Linked DNA regions of Homo sapiens: region 1 is linked to region 2. The links are contacts of gene promoters, found by promoter capture Hi-C in blood cells and fetal thymus (Javierre and others, 2016). All regions are on one chromosome and are shown on one strand. The core of a region is centred on a gene start or on the middle of the fragment in contact, and the rest is flanking DNA. Distances in the headings are between cores, read along the strand shown. Region 1 overlaps MARF1 (meiosis regulator and mRNA stability factor 1). Region 2 holds the start of DEXI (Dexi homolog).

Evidence for each region. The method cuts DNA at HindIII sites, captures the fragments that hold promoters and counts their contacts. A CHiCAGO score of 5 or more calls a contact.
Region 1: a contact is called between a fragment that was not itself captured here and the fragment with the promoter of DEXI in region 2, in 4 of 17 cell types (fetal thymus, non-activated CD4 T cells, activated CD4 T cells and 1 more). The highest score is 16.9, in fetal thymus.

The regions. Positions count from the first base shown.
Region 1 is chr16:15,637,998-15,642,846 of GRCh38, forward strand. MARF1 (meiosis regulator and mRNA stability factor 1) reads right to left here. Exons shown (of 27, transcript NM_014647.4): 2 at 1,093-1,294. The coding sequence starts at 1,236. Among named protein-coding and RNA genes, the nearest start is that of MARF1, 2.7 kb to the right of the region's middle. The HindIII fragment of the contact is 6,127 bases long and covers 1-4,395 here.
Region 2 is chr16:10,940,623-10,945,339 of GRCh38, forward strand. It overlaps DEXI (Dexi homolog), which reads right to left and starts at 1,846. Exons shown (of 2, transcript NM_014015.4): 1 at 947-1,846. The coding sequence starts at 1,383. The coding sequence ends at 1,096. It overlaps CLEC16A (C-type lectin domain containing 16A), which reads left to right and starts at 3,942. Exons shown (of 24, transcript NM_015226.3): 1 at 3,942-4,175. The coding sequence starts at 4,096. It also overlaps a transcript of CIITA not described here. RefSeq lists a silencer at 1,436-1,985 and enhancers at 3,555-3,734, 3,955-4,014. The HindIII fragment of the contact is 2,950 bases long and covers 766-3,715 here.

The sequences.
Region 1 (4,849 bases), core at 82-2,581, 4.7 Mb after region 2:
CTCTACTAAAATACAAAAATTAGCCAGGCATAATGGCGAGTGCCTGTAAACCCAGCTACTAGGGAGGCTGAGACGGGAGAATCCCTTGAACTAGGGACAGTGGTTGCAGTGAACCCGGATCGTGCCACTGCACTCCAGCCTAGGGGGCTGAGCCGAGACTCTGTCTCAAAAAATAAAATCAAATAAAAGTTGTTAATACCCTTATATAAAATTATATTACAGTCTCACTTGAATCCCACATACAATAGAAAATAAGAAATAGAAAGGTGGTAACATGAGTGCATGAAGTCAGGAAATGTCAAAATTGGCTGGACGCGGTGGCTCACGCCTGTAATCCCAGCACTTTGGGAGGCTGAGGCGGGAGGATCACTTGAGGTCAGGAGGTCAAGACCAGCCTGGCCAACATGGCGAAACCTCGTCTCCACTAAAAATACAAAAATTAGCCAGGCATGGCAGCACAGGCCTGTAATCCCAGCTACTGAGGAGGCTGAGGCAGGAGAACTGCTTAAACCTGGGAGGCAGAGGTTGCAATGAGCCGAGATCGCACCACTGCACTCCAGCCTGGGCCACAGAGCAAGACTGCACCTCAAAAAAAAAAAAGAAAATGTCAAAATCACAATGAGTAAGCAAGAAGTTAGAGACATAAATGTATACTGAGAAGTAAATATTCAAGAGAAATCTCGAAATAAAAAACAGGCAGTGGATAAGCTCTTCCCAACCCTTCCTAGATTATAGACTCAAAACTCAAGAGGGCTACAGTAAAATACAACATATTTTGTATTTTCCTCTGATTTTACTCCACAATGTGGATTTTTAATCTTTGTTACCTGTGACTTTAATGAGGAAGAAATCTTTCCCAAATTTTAACATTAAATATTCAAGGCATCTACTGTTACTCAAAGTGAAATAGAAGAGTTAAAAAATTGTGCTGTGCTCTCACATTATAATGTGGTATAAGAGGCAATACAGGCAAGATCTACAGAAAAATGTGGCACAGACTCTAGGATGAGAGACTGTATCCCAGACCAAATGGACCTCTCTCATCTATTTGGATGAGGAATCTGCTACATCCTTAGTCTTGCATATAGTTACCGTTTGGGGACTATGTGGCAGCGTCTGCTCAGGACGAGAAAAGCAATTAGAGAATTTCCAAAGCCATGGCTTAGCATCATTATCTTGTTGAAGCCATCCACGTGTTCTACTGCAGGAGTTCTCAGTTCCGTTTCCTTCCATCATACAGCCATGCAAAGTGATTCAACATCCTTTCATCTTTCTTTTCTTTCATTCTTCCACCCTGTTAAGAATGAGTAAGATTTCAGTGTTATTTCCTTGCATAAGTACAAATTTTACAACATACTAAAATGTGAAACCACAGCTATATTTACAGTCCTATGGCTCTCAACAATTCAAATCTTTGTTTCAAGAGGAAGTCTCGCTCTGTCGCCCAGGCTGGCATGCAGTGGTACGATCTCAGCTCACTGCAACCTCCGTCTCCCGGGTTCAAGCGATTTTTCTGCCTCAGCCTCCAGAGTAGCTGGGACTACAGGAGCCTGTCACTATGCCTGGCTAATTTTTATATTTTTAGTAGAGATGGGGTTTCACCAAGTTGGCCAGGCTGGTCTTGAACTCCTGACCTCAAGTGATCCACCCTCCTCGGCCTCCCAAAGTGCTGGGATTACAGGCATTAGCCACTGCGCCCGGCCAACAATTCAAATCTTAACAAACAAAATAATAATAATAAAATAAAGAAAGAAAAAAACACAAAATATCAGAGCATATTACGGGTTAATAAAATTTGGTAAACTTGGTTGACTGTTTATGCTTAAAATCTAACTGCAACAACCTGATTTCTTAAAAAATCTATAATCTGCCATTCTTCATGTTTCATAGCTCTTCAAATAAAAAATGAACTCTCCATGAGTCTTGTTTCCTTTCCACATGTAACCATGTTTGAGAGAGGTAGCCATATCTTGGAAACTTGCATATTCCAGAGTGAGACTTCACCTCCTCACTTGGCTGGAATCAATTTTTTCTACAGTTTTTCTGAATTCTTTTCGGCTCTCTCTCCCTAAAGATGCTGCTCAGGAAAGTCAAAAGTTAACAGAAGAGAGCATCTAATCTGAGTAAAAGAGCCACCACCACATCCTCATTGACAACTATATGTAAGATTTTAAAATTGACTTAAGAGCAACTTCTTGCACTGGTTTCTTGATCTGAGCATGAAAAGTCCAAACTAAGTGGCCTCTGTGGACTTTGAATTTGATTTGCTACAGAACAAATTGAACCAATTTCTTAGTTTACTAATGATGAAAGTGCAATCTGATATACCACCAAAAATCTAACTGATAGAAAAATCTCAAGTCGCAGATGTGTTATATCTACGCCAGAGCAACAACACTCTTACAGGTCTTAACAATAAATGCAAGCGAGGCACCGTGGCTCAGGCCTGCAATCCCAGCACTTTGGGAGGCCAAGGTGGGTGGATTGCTTGAGCCCAGGAGTTCCCAACCAGCCTGGGCAACATGGCAAAACCCCATGGCTACAAAAAATTAGCTGAGCGTGGTGGTGCATGCCTGTAGCCCCATCTACTCAGGAGGCTATGGTGGAAGAATCACCTAAGACTGCGTAGTCAAGGCTGCAGTGAGCTGTGATTGCACCACTGCACTGCAGCCTGGGCGACGGAGTGAGACCCTGTCTCAAAAACCAACAAACAAAATTACATGAAATTAAAATGTCAGTGTCCATAAATAAAGTTTAATTGGGACACAGACACACTCATTCACTTAAATACTGCCTATGACTGCTTTTGCATTCCAATTGCAGAGTTGCAAAGAGAGTCTCTGCAAAGAGACTGTATGGCCCACAAAGCCTATATTTACTACGTGGCTCTTTTGTCAGCCTGGGCAATATAGCAAGATCACAGCTCTAAAATAAAATAAAGTTCAAAAAATTAGCATAGTGTGGCAGCATGCGCCTAGTCCCAGCTACTAGAGAGACTGAGGTAGGAGGATCTCTTGAGCCCAAGAATTTGAGGCTACAGTGAACTATATTGTGCCACTGGCCCTTCAGCGTGGGCAACAGAGTGAGATTCCATCTCTAAAAAAATTTTTGTTTTCAAGTTTCTGTTTCCTCCTATGCAAAATGTGGCTAATTTCTCCCCGCCACTGCATTACAGAGAAAAAAAAAATTAGATAAATGAACCCCACTGTCTATTTTCACCACTGTATCTCTTGTGCCAACCAAAATGCTCCCTACTCTGTAAATACAAAGTAAACATTACCTACTACACACTATTGGGAGTGGTTAATTTGGAGATGGATTTAACTGCTACCACTGATAGTAAATTACGATTCTTGTCTTTCCTATTAGATACAGGTTTTATGTCCCCCAAAAAACTCCTCTCAAAATCGTAAGAATCTGTGATATTCACAGTGTTCATAACTTAAACATTCTCTCAAACTTCTTCAAAGCCAAATCCTGAAAGTGAGCTAACATTCACAGTATAATCTAGTTTATAAAGTATTTTCACTTAACATTACTTATGTCTTCATTCAGCAAATATTTACTTAGTATCTACTATGCAGCAGGCCTGTGCTTGGCACAAGGAATATAATGATGAAAAAAACCCAGACGGTGGGATCCTCTTATATAATTTTTGCAATAATCCTGTGAAATAGACAGGGGAGAAATTAGCTACATTTTTGCAGAGAGAGAAAAAGAAACTTAATGAAGTTTTGTAGCGAGCCTGACACAAGATTAGGCTTGTTCACCCCTTTCCACTACATCAAGGTGCCTTCAATACTGCTCAATACAAGCGATTAAAAGTAAAAACTTTCAGGTGCCTGCACCCTGAAAACTTCCCAAATACCATCCACGAAGCAACTTAGGTAGCCAAAAGCAGGTTCTGTTTGACTTGAGCGACAGTCTCCTTTCTGTCACTCTCTTCAAGTCTTTTGACCAATTCAATGAGGAGAGCATAGGCTCTGTCGACTGTCTGCATTTTGGTCTCCAATTTGACTGCGGTGCAGCTTTGGACAACTCACAACCTCTCTGAACCTCAGATCCCATCTCTAAAATGGGTGTGATAATAATAGAAACCACCTTACAAGGCCGTTGTTTGGATTACATGAGGTAATCCACGGGGAACATTTAGCAAATGTTGTTTCCTTAGCACCCAATCTAGTCTTTGACCCCACACCACCCCATCCCATTACCGTTTTCTCCCCCATAGCTCTTCTGTCCAAAACGGCCTTTTTAGCTTATTTTATTATCTTTCTCCCCCATTAGGCTATAAACTCCATGACAGCAGAGACTATGTTTTCTTATCCACTATTCCAACTCCTGTCCTTAGTACAATGCCTGGCATATTTTAATAAATAACTGTTGAACGAATAAAGCTTAATAAATAGGAAAACAGTTTAGGTTTCAATACACCGATATGCAAAAGAGAAGAATATTTACCGCTCAGAGAAGTCCAAAAGACACAAATGCAATTGGACAGCTCTTGGTAATACCGGAAAGGTGCTTGAGAAACTCTAAAAGGTGTATCACGAGGTCGCGTTACAACTACTAGTGAGAGTGGCTGAAGCCCTAGACATTGTCAACCCTGAGACTACACCCTATGTGTTGCTAAAAGGCCGAGGAGAATGCAAAACGGCCGGGGAGGGGGGAGTGTGTTGCAAAAACACCCGCCCCTTTCCTTCTCTCTTAACCTTCCAGCTGTGCACTTCACTCCTGGAGGGCCCCACCAGGGGTCAGACAGGGGCGGGCGGGGAGCCAAATGCCCTCGAAGGGGAACAGCGGCGCCAACAGTGACAGTAGTGAATGGACCCGAAAGGGAGACAAGCCA
Region 2 (4,717 bases), core at 596-3,095:
TGACAGCTTGTCTGGCTCACGTGTTCTCTCTAATTGAGTCTAGCTGCCTCTCTTCCTTGTGACTATGACCAAGTCTTACTCCTTCCTGGACCTTCATTTCCCTACCTCTCACATACACAGTGGGCTGGATGCTGGATGCAAAGCTCCCTCGTCACAGCCCCAAAGACAGGACTTGACCATCTCAGTGCAATGACCCTGTGGTGCCTTCTCCCGAGGACCTAAGAGCCCCCTGAGCGCTTGCAAACACTGCAGACAAAGCGAGCCCTGGCACCAGCTCCCTGCCTGCCTGTTCTGTGAAGGGAGCCTACAAAACTGGCAGCCCCTGCAGTTCTGAGCTGCAGAACTGATGAGCTGGGGCACCCTGAAACCTGACTCCAAAATAGCAGCAAACCCAAGGCCAAAAGGAAGTACGGGCTTCTTTGCTTGCGATTTCTCCTCTCACAGCTTTGGCCTAGAGCCCCTGCACTTAATCCCCACCCAGCTACCCCAAGGGCCACAGTACAAAGGTGATTCGTGCCTGGCTCCCTGTGTCTTCTGACACCCCTAAATCTTTATCCTTCTAGGACAAGCGAGAATCCCCCAAAAGCCAAGGTCATCATCAAGCCAGGATGAGGACTGGAGGAGGAGCTGACAGCTCTGCCTCAAATGGATTTGGGAGCGAAGGCTTTTTCCATAAGCTTTGGGGGTAAGTCACAGAGCTACCCCAAATGTAACTTAGTCTCGGGGTCTCCTTCCTTTTCACCAGCTGTCCCCTTTGCTGGAGGAAGCTTTCCAGCCCAAACGAAGGGCTTAAGAGGAGTCTGGCCATTCCTGGCATCCAGTTAGACCTGGAGGAGGTGAACGGAGGAGAAGCCTGAGGGAGGGGTGTGTATCCGGCCTGGGAATTCCTCCCTCTCCCTTGCTAGCGCCCCAACCCGCCCTCATCCTGTTCAGAGAGGGCACTTACAGGCCTCGGAGGCAGGGGAGGGTCTCCTCCTGGGGAACCATCCCCGTCCAGATGGTGCCCCCAACCAGCTGCGGCGGCATGATCTGGGCGGCTGGTCCAGGGCATGGGTTGCGGATCGTGTAGGGAAGAGGGGAACAGCAGTCGAGACCCTACTCCAAGTACGCATCAAAGACGTCGAGCTCCGAGTCAGCATCGTAAAGGCCCGAGCCGGGGTCGGAGAGCACGCCGAGGTCCACGAGCGCCTGGTCCATGTCCTCGGGCAGGAAGACGAGGCCCACGTTGAGGACGATGTACTCCATGAGGAAGGCGTAGTACAGGATCAGCACATTGACGAAGAACAGGCCCACGTAGAACATAGAGGGCAGCAGCGGCGGCGGCACGTAGGGGACCAGGGGGCCCAGTGCGTCCAGGTGGGCCGCGACCCGGGCGCCGAGCATGCAGCGGGTGGCAAGGGCGGCGGCCCGGCGATCCCGGCGAACTCAGCCGCTGCGGCGCCCGGGCGGCCGGCGAGGGCACAGCGCAGCCATCCAGGGGTACCCTGGAGCCCGACAGAAGCAGGGCCGGGCTCCAGATGTCCCCTGGCAATTGCGCCCCGACCCCCGAAATGCGCCGGGCGGGTCACCGCACCCCGAGATGTGCCCCCAAGGATCTCTCGACCGCCCGGGCGGCGAGGCGGGCCCCCCTGAAGTGGCCCGCGGCTGCCCGGCTCCCTCGTGGCGCCTCCCTGGCGCTCGCAGGGCCTCGCAGAGCCGGTGGGGATCCCACCGCGGCTCAGTGTCTAGGGCCGGTCCCGGCAGCCTTCTCTCCCGCCCCGCCCCGCAGGTCCTCGCGCACCCCCCGCGCCCCCGCAGGCCCAGCACCCATGGCTGCGGCCGCCGCGTAGCCCTCCCGGTGGCGCTCGGAGCTCCGCCTCCCGAGGGGCCCCGAGCTCATTGGCAGGCCGCCCCCTGCACGCGCTAATTGGCCGGCTCAACGCCCGCGCTGATTGGCTCCGGCCGCCAGGGGGCGGGTACCGCTTCGCTCCGCCCCTCGGGGCCCTAGCGTCTGAGTTGCTTTCCTGGTTCGGGTCTGCCCTCAGATCTCAAATCGAATTCGCTCTGCGTATCGAATAGGGGGAGGTAAAAGAGACTGAACACAGTTCAAACCTAGACATAATGCTAAGGCCGCAAAAGCCGAAGGAAACCCGGGCTACCGCTGCACCTTGCTGCATGCCTCTTTGGGACTCCGTTTCTCCTTTAAAAGGAGGCGGGGTCGGGGAGGGGCGACGGACGGTTGCCCTGGAAATTTTGGACATTCCCAAAGCGCCAATTTTCATGGTGGAGATCCACCAGTGTCCCCTTCGCTTCTCCAAACTCTGGTTGCTGGAAGGTCCGCCCACTACGGAACCTGCATCCTAGAGTTAAGGAACACCTGAATAAAGAGATTCCGAGGTAGTTCAGATCTTCAACCATAAGGATGCTTTTTGTTTCTTTTTACTTTGTGAATCATGTTTAAAAGCAATAATACACATGGCTAAACATTCAAACAACCGTGAAGTACACAGAAAAGTGAGTCTCTCCCACCCACTGGTTCCCCTGCTCTTGGGTAACCGTTGCATGTCTTTCAGGAAAACATGATCTCGCCCAAAGAGCCTTCCAAAGCAGTTCAAGAAACCTTTAAATCTCAGGCCACACTGAGCTGAGTATTTTACATGCATCGCTTAATCGGAGGTATACAAGGCAGTGTAGTATGTATGTGCGTACTTTTTACAGATGAAAAATACGAGCCCAGGGATCCTACATTTCTGAGCCTGGGTGTGTTTCTTTGGAGGCCAGATCCTGTTCTTTTTTGCTCCATGACTTTGTCTTGCCCCACTCTATATGAATTACAGGACAAACCATTAACTCTCCACTCTTATCCATTTCTCCAACTGCTGAAGGTGAAACAAACCTTTACTCATTCATGCACTCTACCAATATTTGTTAAACACCTGCTATGTGCCAAACCTTGTGCTAGGCACTGGGGAGAACATTGGCCTCTGGCCCAGTTCTTTCTTGAGCAGAGTTAATGGGACACAGTGGACCTTTAATAAGGTTGATATGTAGAAGTGACTGAATGAATGAATGGATGGTAAACTTGAGAAGTCTTGCCCACACTGAACTTACCACTTCTAATCCAGGGTAGAAGTTAGATATATTCTGGCTCATGCAGAAAGTTGGGTGTTTCCTTTTTCATTTTAACGTGGTACTTTGGGAAATAGCATGGATTCTGGCTGAAGACCAGAGGAATCCTCTGGAAGTACAAAATGTTCAGTTTGGTGCATTGTTGCATCCAGCCTTTTCCAACACACACACACACACACACACACACACACACACACACACACACACACACACACACTTAATTGAAGTGGAAAAAGAAAAAGGCTGTCAGGACAAATAAGGTTGTTATCTAGTGCCGTTTTGGTTTATAAAGGGAATGAAAAATAAGGGTGCGTGCGTGGTTATGAACCCTGGTTTTGCCACTTGTTAACTGCATGATCTTGGGTAAGTCAACCTCTCAGTGACTCCGTTTCCCTGATGATAAAATAGGTTCGATAATAGTACCCAATTCATAGGATGGTTGTGAAAATTAAATACCTTAATATGTAAAGCCCTTAGGATAGTGGCTTTGCATAGTATACACCATCCAATACTATTCTTATTCTTATTATAAATCTAGTAATTGTTACTACAGTGGTGACTTTCCTTGACCCATCTACGCCGATTCCCTCTCCGGGACTGCGCCCAAAGCTTCCAATTCCCGCCCACCCGGAGGATTCTGCGGTCGCTCCTCCTCTCGCCCCGCCTTTTGTGGATGGCCGTAGGCCCGCGGTTGCACGATGCATGCCGGGCCTTGTAGTCCGTTCGCGGAGTCCTGCCGCCGAAGGCCACGCGGGTGAACTGCATTTCCCAGCGCCCCACGCGGCGGCGGCCGTAAAGCGCGGCGGTCGAACGGCCGGTTCCGGCTGAATGTCAGTGCTGGGCTGTGGGCCGGGGAGGAAGGCGGCTCGCGGTTCCTCCACCGCCTCCGCCGCCGCATCCTCCGCTTGTGCTACCGCCGCGGGCGCTGGGCCGCTCTGCTGGTCCGGCATGAGACCGTGAGACGAGAGACGGGTCGGGGCCGCCGACATGTTTGGCCGCTCGCGGAGCTGGGTGGGCGGGGGCCATGGCAAGACTTCCCGCAACATCCACTCCTTGGACCACCTCAAGTGAGTGTGGGGGGCGTAGCGGGAGGCCTCGGGGCTGGACAGGGGGACGGGGCGCCGAGCTCCGGGTCGGGGCTCTAGGAGGCGTGAGAGCGGCGGCGAAGGGCGCCCGGGGAAGCCCGTGTGGTGGTTAAGAGCGAGGGCTCGGGAGTCAGGGCGCCTGGGTTCGAACCCTGACCCCGTCGCTCTTGGCTGTGTGACCTTGGACAAGTCGCTTAATTTCTCAGAGTCTCCGTATCCCCACCTGTAAAGCGAGAGGATGCGATTTCAGTTTATGGACACAGACTTTGTTCTTGACGGTGTCCACCAAGTTTCCTGGCGGGGTACTTCTTAAACTGAACAGCTTAGAGGGTCAAAGGCCTGGGTCCTGGAGTCGGGCAGATCTGGGTCCGAATCTATCTGTGTGAATGTAGGCCTCAGGTTCCCCACTTGTAAAAAGAGTAGAGTGACAGCACCTGCTTCCTGCTATTGTGTTGAGAGTTGGTTGGATAAGAGAATGAACGTTAAGCTCAGAACACGTACAATTGCTCATTAAACGGCATTAA